2 separate regions of the Homo sapiens genome follow, and region 2 is linked to region 1. The links are contacts of gene promoters, found by promoter capture Hi-C in human tissues and cell types (Jung and others, 2019). All regions are on one chromosome and are shown on one strand. Each heading gives the region's core, a stretch centred on a gene start or on the middle of the fragment in contact. The rest is flanking DNA. Distances are from core to core; before and after follow the strand shown.

Region 1 (5,832 bases), core at 2,696-5,195:
CTCTCACAAAACAAAGAACAAAAGGAAACATATGTTCACAGTGGGAAGGATTATTACTCGATCATCTGTAGAAGCATGGCCCAGGGAGCCTTTGCCAACCTACTGGGGATGTCACATGTAAAAAGGTTTCTCCAAAAGGTTGGCAATATGATTTATTAAAGGAGTCAGATGACATGGGAGTTAAGGGCAGCAAACTTCATTGTGATGGAAAGGATCTAAGCTGCTCCAGCAAAATGAAAGGATTATGGTTCACCTGCCAACACTGTGCAATTTATGGATGAAACCTCAACCACGAAAAGTGAAACTTCTTTGTGTGTGTGTATGGGGTTGCGAGGGGAGACATAGGAAAGGAAAGGCAGACAGACCGTGGAAAACAGATATTTCCCCTGGATAAGAGTAGAATGGCCAGTATCATAACACTCATGTATTATAGAATTAAATATAAACCTGTTTCAGAAAGTACAATATTAAGACCCTTTTTAAATTTGATATTCTTTGATGATATCTCTGGTAAAAGCAGAAATAGAAAGAAATAGAGAGAAGGGGTTAAAAAAGAAGGACACACGCCAAGCACTTGAGTTTAGGAATATATTCCAGCTGACTACTAAAAAGCAACATTTCAGGGAAGGCCAACTTCAAATTCCTATGATGTCATATTCCACGATTTGCACCTTAGTAGACAAAGTACTTATACTGAGTAAACTGATACAGGAAGACATTTTCTAGGAGGGCTTTAGTAAAGATAGGACAAGTGTAGGAAGTTACATTTCTTTCACTGGGAATTATGGGAAGACACACAACAGCGAGGCTCGCCAGATAAATACCTCACTTGCATTCATCCATAGAAGACTTTGAAATTAGTAGCCTTCAATATAATAACAGAGTTCCATTTTTTCTTCTATTTTATATACACCATCAATATTGATATAAAAATAAAAATTTTCATAACCAACATTGTGTTTAGGCAAGATAAATTATGCAGATATTAGCTTCATAATGTGCAGTGAATGATTTAGACAGTCTGAGATGCCCGATTATATGTGCTCATCACTGCTCCATGGATAAGGAACGATGGCACAAAGACCTTCTTGGCCAGTCACATTTAGTCTCCCTCAATGGAACTGATTATAGCCATTCATACACATTCAAACTTTCCTACTTTTCCACCACTGATATCCAGCTGCTTATTTTTGAGTTGTGGAAAATGTAAAGCTGTAAATTAAGCCTCATACTTGAATTTCTCTGTCTTATTTTCCTTCAGAATTTTCACTCTTATATAAAGGATACACATATGGAGTAGTGAAAAATGTATTAACTATAGTGAAAACTATGGAAATTATTTTGGCAAGGGAGAGTTGAGAGAATGTTTCATTTCTGACTCGGCACACGTGGAACATTTTGGATTTTATTATTGAGATACAGTTAGCAGTTTGGTATTTAATAATGAATTTTTTCTCATCCTCCAGTCACAACCTGCTTGAGTAGATCTGTTTTACTGGCACTTAATCAGGACCTTTAATTCAAAAATATCTCCAAATTATAAAGAGATTATACCATGTGCCCAACGCACCATGTAATATACTATCCTCTAAATGTAAGATATTACACTGTGTGCCCAATTTACCATTTTTTTTGAACAACTCTTGTCAACTGCAGCAAAATAGGATTAAATGAAATAACGTATGTAAAATGCCTAAAAAACCAGCACATAGAAGGTATTTAATATATACAGTTTTTTCTTCTTTCCTCTGATATAGTTTATATTCAGGTGACAAAAATATTACATTCACATAAAATAAAGGAAAATGATTTTTCTTACAAAATTATGTGTCCCACTACAATAATTATTATTTAAATGGCAAACTTTGCCAATGTATTTACTATGGAAGCAGTTTGCCATAATTTACATTTACCTGCAATGTTCAGGAATATACCTATTATGTGAAGCAGGCTGGACCTCTATGACAATCACTAACATTTTCATTACACCATCACTAACTGCATTTTCTCATTCCAATATCGAGTTTTAAGTCAAACAATGGCCACATTTATTTTATTTTAATTGCAAAACCTTACCCCCACTCCCAACCAAGTCATTCTCTTATTTCTGGAATTATCTCATTATGAAGAACTCACGCAAAAACCTGCAGTTGTGCTAAACGTTAGGTTTGGATCAGATGTCATACATATAACTCTTAGCTGTTGCTCGTAAAATGCATAGTGACTTGGTTTCTAATTTTTGGTTCATGACAATTATTGCATAGGTAAAATAGTTGTGACAGTTTGATAAATAGTTAGAAAACGACTAATAGACAACCTAATAAGTCTAATGCATTTATGATGTGTATGAAAGAACAACCTCCTACAGTAAAAACATATAACTGAGCTTATTATTTACCATACTTTAAAATTAATGATTATTGATAATTTAAGAAAAAATGTTAAAACATATTAAATATATTTTAAGGTCTTACTTAGGCATTCTGTTGCTGTTTCTCCCTGAATTTTTTTTATATTTTTCATTAAGATAAATGAAAATATGGAGTATTTAAAAGTAATGCTGTTCTTAATCCATTGGTCCTGTTCCATTATATTCTTTTTAGGCATTCATAATTAATGGTGCATATAAGCAAGAAGTGACTCTATAATAAGAAAACCTTTGGATCCATTAACCTGGCATCCATTTCTAGGGAAGGTATCACTGTGGTCCTGAAAGGATAGCTCCAAGTCACCTGTCGACATTCTTGAGTTTGCTTTGCGGAGAGAGGAAAAGACTAACAACAGAACTAAAGTAGATCCACTGAAGACATGAGTGATAGACAATCACTTCAGAACTTCACATCGCCGTCCAAGAAAACATCTAGCTGACATTTCTTCAAAAAAATTTATGTACAGTATAGTTGTCAAACTGATTTTTCAAAAGCAACTCCTTTGCTTTTCATTTTTCTCAAAGTAAAACCTCAGGGTAGCACATTCCAAAGAAGATACGAAAAAGTTTATTATTATATATTTTTCCACCATTAAATCTAGGGGTAATATCATCTGTAAATATAGTGGAGAAAGTCTGGAGACTTTTTAAAAGGAATTGTAAAGATGTTGATAGGAGTTGGGGAGAGGAATCCTTACCAAGCTCTCTACCTGACACTCCTTATTCAAAGAAAATTCTGCCCTAACGTAGCCCTGGCAGTCCATTTGTGTCCAGGGAGCTCAGTCCCCCTCCACTCTCCAGTGTATAATTCCAGCAGTAAGGAAAATTAAGACAAAGCATTCTGTGCGAGGGAGGGCGGAAAGGTTAAGCAGCGTTGGGGTGCAGTGGAAACCAGAAAAGAAAGTGACCTCATTTTGCCTGAGAAAGCACGATCCAACAAGCCCACCTTTGATGTGGATTTCAGCAGCGATAAAAGAGCACAAAGGGCGAAAGCCGGAGGGAGCAAACTTCCCTTATTCTTCCCCCCGCCCCCTACCTCTCAAGACCACCAGGAACACGCACACGCGAGGACAACAAAGCGTGCGCCCAGGCTGCACGGCAGGCGCTTCCCGCGGCTGGGCCATCGTGCCCTGGGGCGCGCCGCTCCCAACGGCAGAGCGAGGGCGCCGGAGCGCGGCTGCCGCCCGGACCGCTGGGAAAAAGGGGTGGAGGAGCTCCCCTACCTTGAACAGCACAAAGAGCCAGAGCAGAGGCAGGAGGCGGCGGGCGCCGTGTATCCCCGTGGGCAGGTGCCCCATCGCTGCGCGGACGGGGACTCGGGGGCACGGCTGCGCTAGCGGACTCCCCCGGCGGCGGCTCACAATGGCGAACTGGGGCTGCAGCCTCAGACCCTGGGCGCCGAGGTTGCTCCTGGCGAGCGCATGCTGCCTTTCCAGTCCCCCTGCGCCTGCTCCCTTTCCTCCTCTGCGCCCGGGGTCCTCCAAGAACGTGCCAGGCGCTGCTGTTCTTTAATGACTAAGGATGGAGAGGGTGGGGATTGGAGTGGGCGAGGCTCTGCCGCCGCCACCACCGCGGCTGCCAGAGGAGGCGCGGGGTCTGTGTGGTGAGCGAGAGGCGGGGACCCCGCGCCCAGCCCGCCGTAGTCCTCTGGCAGCAGGGACACTCTCACTCTGGCTGCCGACCCATAAAATGACAGCAGCCTCCCAACCCTCCACCAGGATCGGCCCGCTGCTTGCTACTGCTGGACAGCCCCCATTGCAGACTCCGCCTCAACCCCTCCCTCAATCTCTGGGTCTCAGGAGTTCTGAGGGGTTTCCCTGACCTCTCTTGAGCAATCCAGGCGCCAGATCCCAGTTCCCTCTCAATCTTCCTACATCTGTACTCAATTGCAGTTATAAAGGATCAATAACAGTTGGGTAGTTGTGACTGTAGAAATAGTGTGTAGTGTGAGTGTGTGAGTGTGTGTGATAGGAAGGGTATTTTCTCTCCTTCCCCACTGCTTCCATTATCTCCATCCCATTTCAACACTCTCACCGTCTCCGTCCCACACTCACCCAGGAACAAATAGCACAATTATGCACCTTTTCCATTTGAAATCCGCAGTTCTTGTACATTTCAGATTCTCTTTTGATACCAAAGTGTGTCGGGTCACCTGAAGCTGAATATAGAAGGGGGAAAAATCACAGTATTTTACATGTATGACCCTTGAACAACACGGGTTTGAACTGTTGGGTCCAGTTATATGCAGATTTTCTTCCACCTTTGCCAGCCTTGAGACAGCAAGACCAAACCCTCTTCCTCCTCCTCTGCCTGCTCAGCCTGAAAAGGATGACGTTAAAGACTTTTATGATAATTCACTTCCACTCAATGAATATAAATGTATTTTCTCCTCTTTATGGTTTTCTTAATAATATTTTCTGTTCTCTAGCGTACTTTATTGTAAGAATACAGTATACAATACATACAACACAAAATGTGTGTTAATCAACTGTTTATTATGTTATCAGTAAGGTTTCCGGTCAAGAGTAGGCTATTAGTAGTTAAGGTTTTGATGAGTTCAAAGTTATATGTGGATTTTCAACTACGTGATTCTCTGTGTTGTCCAAGTGTCAACGGTATGTACAGTTATATTTTTAAACAATTATCTGTGAATAATTTTACTGGGATGTTTTAGAATCACAAGCAACGACTTTCAAGCTGTGGGTCCCCAATCTACTACTTGTCTCCTTTTTTGTTATGTGTATTTTTTTAAAGATAAGTCTGTCGAAATCAACTCTGGTATGCACTGTTCAGATAGAAATCATTTCTTATTGTCATGTAAATTACCCTTGCTGTGCCCTGTCAGTATTGGAACTTATTTATACCTGAGACATGCTTGGGCAACAGGAGACAGGAAAGGCCACCCTGGTCATGAATGTAGGTGTTCAGGCATAGACTTTGTCAGTCACACAGCTAGGGAGTGGTGGCCTGAGAAAAGGATCCAGAGCTGTGTTTACTCAGCTTTTGCTGCATGAGCAATGGCCAAACACTAATCATTTGGTTGTTGTTTGTATGTGTCTTAAGGAAGCTTTAGATTGAATATGTTTACATAAGTGTGAATATGTATATATACACATGTGTACATGTACACATATGTGTACATGTACATATGTGTACACACATGTGTGTGCATGTACATATGTGTACACATATGTGTGTGCATGTACATATGTGTGTACACATATGTGTATGTGTGTACATAGATACATATGTGTATGCATACGTATATGTATATGTACGCATATGTATATGCATGGTACATATATGTATATATGTACCAAATTTCATATGCATGAAATATGTACCAAAATTCATATGCATGAAAATATAGAATGATGGTCTGAATTTTTGTGAGAATATTATCC
Region 2 (6,001 bases), core at 2,089-4,588, 97 kb before region 1:
AGAGTCTTTCCCCAGCCATCTTGTTTTATAGAAGAGGAATCTGAAGACCAGGAAGGGCAAGGAATTTATGGGAGGTTTGCAGCAATTAGTGAGAAGTAGGTCAGGGCTCAGTGCTCCTCTCTTGCATCCTGGGGGACTTTCCACCAGTTGGCCCTGACTTCTTCCCAGTTTTTGCTTCAATTTCTCTAAAGTGCTTCTCTCCTGGAATGTAAAATATTTTCTCTTTCTCACTTTCTCCTCAAAAAGTTAAACAAACACATAAATTCCCTTTGCATATCAACATGATCATAACTTTTTAAAATTTAGGGAGAGAGGATGTACAATGGAATACATACATAGAAATTGATAGATGTGACAATCTCATTATTATCTGGAGGAGAAATGGTCTTTGGTTTATGTGACATGGGTCTCACATCTTTAATCCATTTCTTCTGCTAAAGTACTCAGTGCTTTGTGCTTCCTTTGATAAATCACTAAATATTTACCCTTTTCAAAATATTTAATATCTTATTGCCCAGCTTCTTTATTATAGCAAACATTTCCTAAATATGCAAAGGACATTGGAATTAGCCACTAATAAGATGAGCCTGAAAACCTGGGCTCACGTTTCTACATGGTCGCTTTGTAGCATGTGGTTTATACAAGTCCCCTATCTATCTAAACCCTAATTTCCTCTGTGAAAAATGAGAACCCTACTATCTGGAGGAATAGAAAAAATGTATTTTGTCCGAACTTTATCCCGTGGCCTTTTCTAACATCAAAACTGCCAAATAATTGGCAGTTATTGGGTTCTACCTACTATATAAAACATTAGGCCCAAAGTTGGCACTCAATTATGGAGAATTTTTATAACTCTTTTTCCAAGTTTTTGTGATTTTATTAATCATAAAGTCATTTTTGTACCAAGCCATCATTTTAATATTTATGTAGTGGTTACCATGTGTAAGCTCTTACAATTGCCTCAAATGCCCTGAAACAATTAGTAAAAACAAACAAACAAAAAACAAGAAAACCTGGTTAAAACCCTTTCGTACAATTATGATGTCTTCTTTCCCTTTGCAATCACATTTGGCAGAGGTAAGAATGAATTACAGTCAAAAAATTGTAAATCTTAAATCCTCAGTTTAGCAAAATCCAATCCTACTCCCTGGGGCAAGTTATTTTGGAATTGCTGCAAAGTTTCATTTAGCAATTCCATGGCAGAGGAAGTATCTTCAATGAAATCATTCTTTTTTTTTTCTTTAAATGGGCGAGCTTCATATTTGTTTTATTTCATTGTTCTCTTATAACTAGATAATAAATAAAATTTTAAAAATTCTTTTCATGTATCAGGTATTGTTCTAAGCATGTCATGCCTATGAGATAGGTGCTAATCCTGTCACACTTTAAAAATGAAGAACTGAAGCAGAGAAAGCAAGTAACTTGCCCAAGATCACACAGCTAGTTAAAGCCACTCCAGAATTTAACAATATGATGTTTAAACTTTGCAAACTCTTCTGCTTCACACTAGGTGTCACAGGGCTTTAAAAATAAGGTTCCTTTAATAATGGTAAATGATATCATAAATTATTGGAAATGAGAAATAGACACAGACTCCAAAATAAACAATCTGATACCATTGTGATACAGAATAATACACTCTTTTATTTTTGCTTTCTTCTTCTCTACCTGACCAGTCAATGAAGTAAAAACCTGCTGGCAAATTAAACTTGGCTATGCATAGGTTTCTGAGACACCTCTCTAGGATCACAGCATTTGGTACTTACTGCTTATTCAGGCACTAGTTGTACTATGCCTATTCTAAGGTCAACATTTGTTTAATGTCTTATTTTGTTATGTGAGCCCTTCCTATTCCCTCTCTCCTTAACTCTCTCCCTTCTCTCTTTTTTACTTCCCTCTCTCTCTTTAAAAAGTACATTTATTGCACTACTACCGTGTTCTAGCCAGTGAATTACAGCTTAAATGAATTAAATATCACAACCACTGGTTTCAAGGATTTACAGCCCAGAAGGAAAGATAGGAAAATAAGTAAGTTAAATGAAATATCCTATTTAGACGTATTTGCAAGATAGGGATGTAAAAGGAACTGTGGTTCTATGTAGAAAGTCATCATTGTTTAGAGAAGCATTTAAAGGGAAACTGATGATAATGTCTGGAATTTGCTTTAAAATACTACATTAATGAAAAATAGACCAAAGAGAAATAGATAAATAAACAATAATGGCAAAATTTGATAATTGCTAAAGCTGGGTGTTCAGTATATGCATACCACTGTCTCTAATTTTGCATATATTTGAAATTTTTTATTAAAGTGTTTAAAAAGTACATCATCAGCAGCAGCACAGTTAACATTTATTGCATACTTAGTATGTGGTAGACACTAAGTGCTTTTTCTGTGCTAACTCATTCAACTCTTACAAACGCCCCGTGAGGTAGAAACTATTATTGTACCCATTTTGCAGGTAAGAAAACTGACCCAGAAGGGAGGGCCCATTAACTTGACAAATTCACAGAACAATAAGTACTGAAAGATAGGCAGTATGATGTCAAGTTTTACTCATTTAGCCACCATGTTATATTGTCTCTCCAGTGTAGTTATAATAACATGTGATATAATGATAGTTATTTACTACTGTCAGACATGGTGCTAAATAATTTACATATAGTATTTCGTCTAATCACTGCAAAAATAAGAGGACTTAAGCTTAAGGGGCCATTCAATGGTGGCATGAGTTGGTCAGGAAATGTGGTAAGACGGGAAGGAACAGGTGCCTGAGTTGAGTTTCCACAATTGGAATGGCTGTGTTTCAGGGTGAAAAAGGTGTGGTCTCATTCCAGGCAGTGGGAGAATCTTGGTAAAATGCACGCAGGTGAGATGCATTCAGACACTGGCGGTAGCAATGGTGGAGGATTAGGTATGAAGTGGCTGGCATGAGAGTGGAACCAGATTGAATAAGCAGGCAGAACCTGGATTTGGAAGTTCTCATGACATGCTAAGGAATTAGGGCTCTGCCCCATAAGTTATGAAAGAGGCAGTAGCAGACTTAAATTTTAAAAAGGCACCCAGGGAATCCTGAAGAGTACAATTCAGAGGGGACACTCTTTTTTTTTTTTTTTTTTTTTTTCTGAGTCGGAGTCTCGCTCTTTCGCCCAGGCTAGAGTGCAGTGGTGCGATCTCCGCTCACTGCAAGCTCCGCCTCCCGGTTTCACACCGTTCTCCTGCCTCAGCCTCCCGAGTAGCTGGGACTATGGGCGCCCGCCACCGCGCCCAGCTAATTTTTTGTATTTTTAGTAGAGACGGGGTTTCACCGTGTCAGCCACGATTGTCTCGATCTCCTGACCTCGTGATCCACCCACCTCAGCCTCCCAAAGTGCTGGGATTACAGGCGTGAGCCACTGCACCCGGCCCAGAGGGGACACTCTTATATGCAACTAATTCAATTGGTTTGTTGAATGGATGTTTTGAATGTACATCTAGTAATCTCGACAAATTCTGTCTAATGTTGGATTACCTCTATTTTCTCTGGGAAAAAAAAAACACCAAAGAACTAGCTTTGACGTATTCTTCTGCTGTATCTCGTGTACACAGTGCCTACTGAAATGTTATGCTCTCGAAGGGCATCAACAAGTAAATGCGGTGCATAAATTAATTTTCTTGCTGTAGTCTGTTTATTAATTAGAAGAAAAGTTCCCTGTAGGTCAGACTTGGAGGACATCATTATCTTGTGGCCTGGATGGCTTGAAATTCACCTGAACTGTTAGAAAACATGATTTTGTTTTAACTTCAGTTAAGTATTTAGCTATACTTCTTATGCGTAATGAAATTTTTTTCCCAAGAACCTTGGAAAAGAAGGGAAGCAATCTGAATTGCTTCATCTTCTGGCTTGCACTCTTTTCTGACAGTTTATAGATGTTATTTCTAATGGGCAGCTTTTCTGTTACACTGACCTTTCTCCAAAACTCCTGAGTCTGAAAAATTAGATCACATCAATTAGCCCCCCTCCCCCGCCCCCAAAATGCTCCTATCGTTACTGGAGCATCTTAAAAAGGATAAATGGACTTGTCGGCACAAATGCAGGAAAAGGTGGCTTATTTCAATAAGCGCATGAATATCTGCTAAAATTTGTAGCTGATTTGTGCCTATTCACTGTATGCTTCGAGTTCACCTTTGTTCTTTCCAAATCGCACCTATTTTTATCTTCTGTGTACTGTAACTTGAAAGACTGATCTAGCATTTAATATGCGTTAGTAATGCTCTAAATTTTACATTGTAGAAAATGTGTCATCTGTATGTGAAATCTTACTCTTGAAGCTTTAAAAAAGTGTCACAATTTTTCTACTTTTATTTAAATGTTTAATTTTTATGTGTGTAGAGGAAACAGGCAAGGAAGGACTTTAGTATTGCTTTTGTTATGAATATCATTTAATAAAAGAGGCAAGTTTGGAAGCACATTAGGCTTAGGGGAAAAAAAAGATGTTAAAGTAAGAATCTGGTCCATCCATAATTCTTAACACTTCCTCCCAGTACTCCATTGCCTCAGCCTTTGGCTGACGTATGGCACACTCATTCCTTGAAATGCCATATGTATTCCTACCTCCTACATTCTGTGCATTCCACAAAATTCCATGTTCTCCTTGCCAGGAATCCCCTTTTCTCTATGATGCTGATGTGGGTCCCATTTTTCCTTCAAATTCTAGATTAATGTTCATTTTCCTCATAAAACCTTCCTTGTCTTTTCTAGTTCTTGTGTGATTGTTCTCTTCTGCTGAAGCCTCTTTAGGTAAAATCAACAGTATCTATACCTCAGGAGCTTTAGAAATCCAAGCCAGAAGAAACAACTACAACAACAGGTAAACAATGAGAGTTGAGCTAGGCACTTCATTCACTCAACAGACACTGAAGGCCATCTCTGTGCCAGGTACTGGGAATCTAGCTGTGAACCCCAGAGAAATTATGGAGTTAACAAAGCAGTTAATCTATAGCCATAATTAATTTGTGCTCTAATATGTAGGGCCTGTTGTGATTAACCACATTCACACTGCAGCAAGTAGAGCAGCCTTCTGCATTTAATCACTTTGCCTGTGCTATTCAAAGTTCTTGTCCACAAGGAGGTAACAAGCTATGCTTGAGTAGAAATCAACATGCTACTTCCTTCATTGAAAAAGTTTTACTAAGAAAAAAATAGCAGCTGAAATTAAGAGTGTGCCTAGTGATGTAGGTGATTTACATTTTGGCACAAGCTTCTTATGTCATCATGCATATTCTACCAAAGTTGCTATATTATGACAGACAAGTAACAAACAATTTGCAGATGGGTAGCCAGTTTTCTGACTTCACTTAGTATTACATTGCTTTAGGCCACACTCCCAGCACTGTTGAGAGATATCATCTGTAAAGACTCAGATGACAAAGGCTCTAATTTGAGTGCATGCATAAAGGAAGACTAAATCCTAGTATTAAAGGCCCTGGCGAATCTCAGTTCAGGGTAGACACAAAGGAAAATTTAGGACAGACCAACACTGAGATCATTCCTTTAGTCACACTGGTTAAGCCGTGCCGTCAGTTCTTTTCTAAGAAGGAACTGGAGTGTGATCAATACTTAATGCGTACTCATTAGAGTAGCTTCTTAAACATAATGCGTGTACTGATTTTCTTGGGGACCTTGTTAAAAATGCAGATTCTGATTTAGTAAGTCTGGGGTGGGCCCCAGTTTCTACATTTCTAGTAAGCTTCTAGGTGATTTCAATGCTGATGGTCGAGGAGTCACACTGAGAAGCAAGGTTTTGTTAAATTTGATTCAATCATTCTCAATATACTCTTTTGCTATTTTCATAAAGACATGAATTAAAGACCATCTATCCAATTATTGTTTTCAAGCTGTTTGTGTTCAGAGTTATTAAAAGTTCACAAGTAGTATGTGTGGTATTCACTTTTATTTGTCTTGATACCTTATACAGACGGTTCCTGACTTACAATGGTTCTACTTATGCTTTTGTGACT

Evidence for each region. Contacts are between HindIII fragments. The study calls those that stand out against the background at their distance.
Region 2: a fragment that was not itself captured here is called in contact with the fragment with the promoter of PTPRO in region 1 in 2 of the 25 tissues and cell types used here (hippocampus and mesendoderm cells).

What each region holds. Positions count from the first base shown.
Region 1 is chr12:15,320,621-15,326,452 of GRCh38, reverse strand. It overlaps PTPRO (protein tyrosine phosphatase receptor type O), which reads right to left and starts at 3,945. Exons shown (of 27, transcript NM_030667.3): 1 at 3,652-3,945. The coding sequence starts at 3,726. All of the region lies in intron 2 of LOC105369673 (a long non-coding RNA gene), which reads left to right. The HindIII fragment of the contact is 7,625 bases long and covers 1-5,674 here.
Region 2 is chr12:15,417,273-15,423,273 of GRCh38, reverse strand. All of the region lies in intron 1 of PTPRO (protein tyrosine phosphatase receptor type O), which reads right to left. Among named protein-coding and RNA genes, the nearest start is that of PTPRO, 98 kb to the right of the region's middle. The HindIII fragment of the contact is 4,296 bases long and covers 1,191-5,486 here.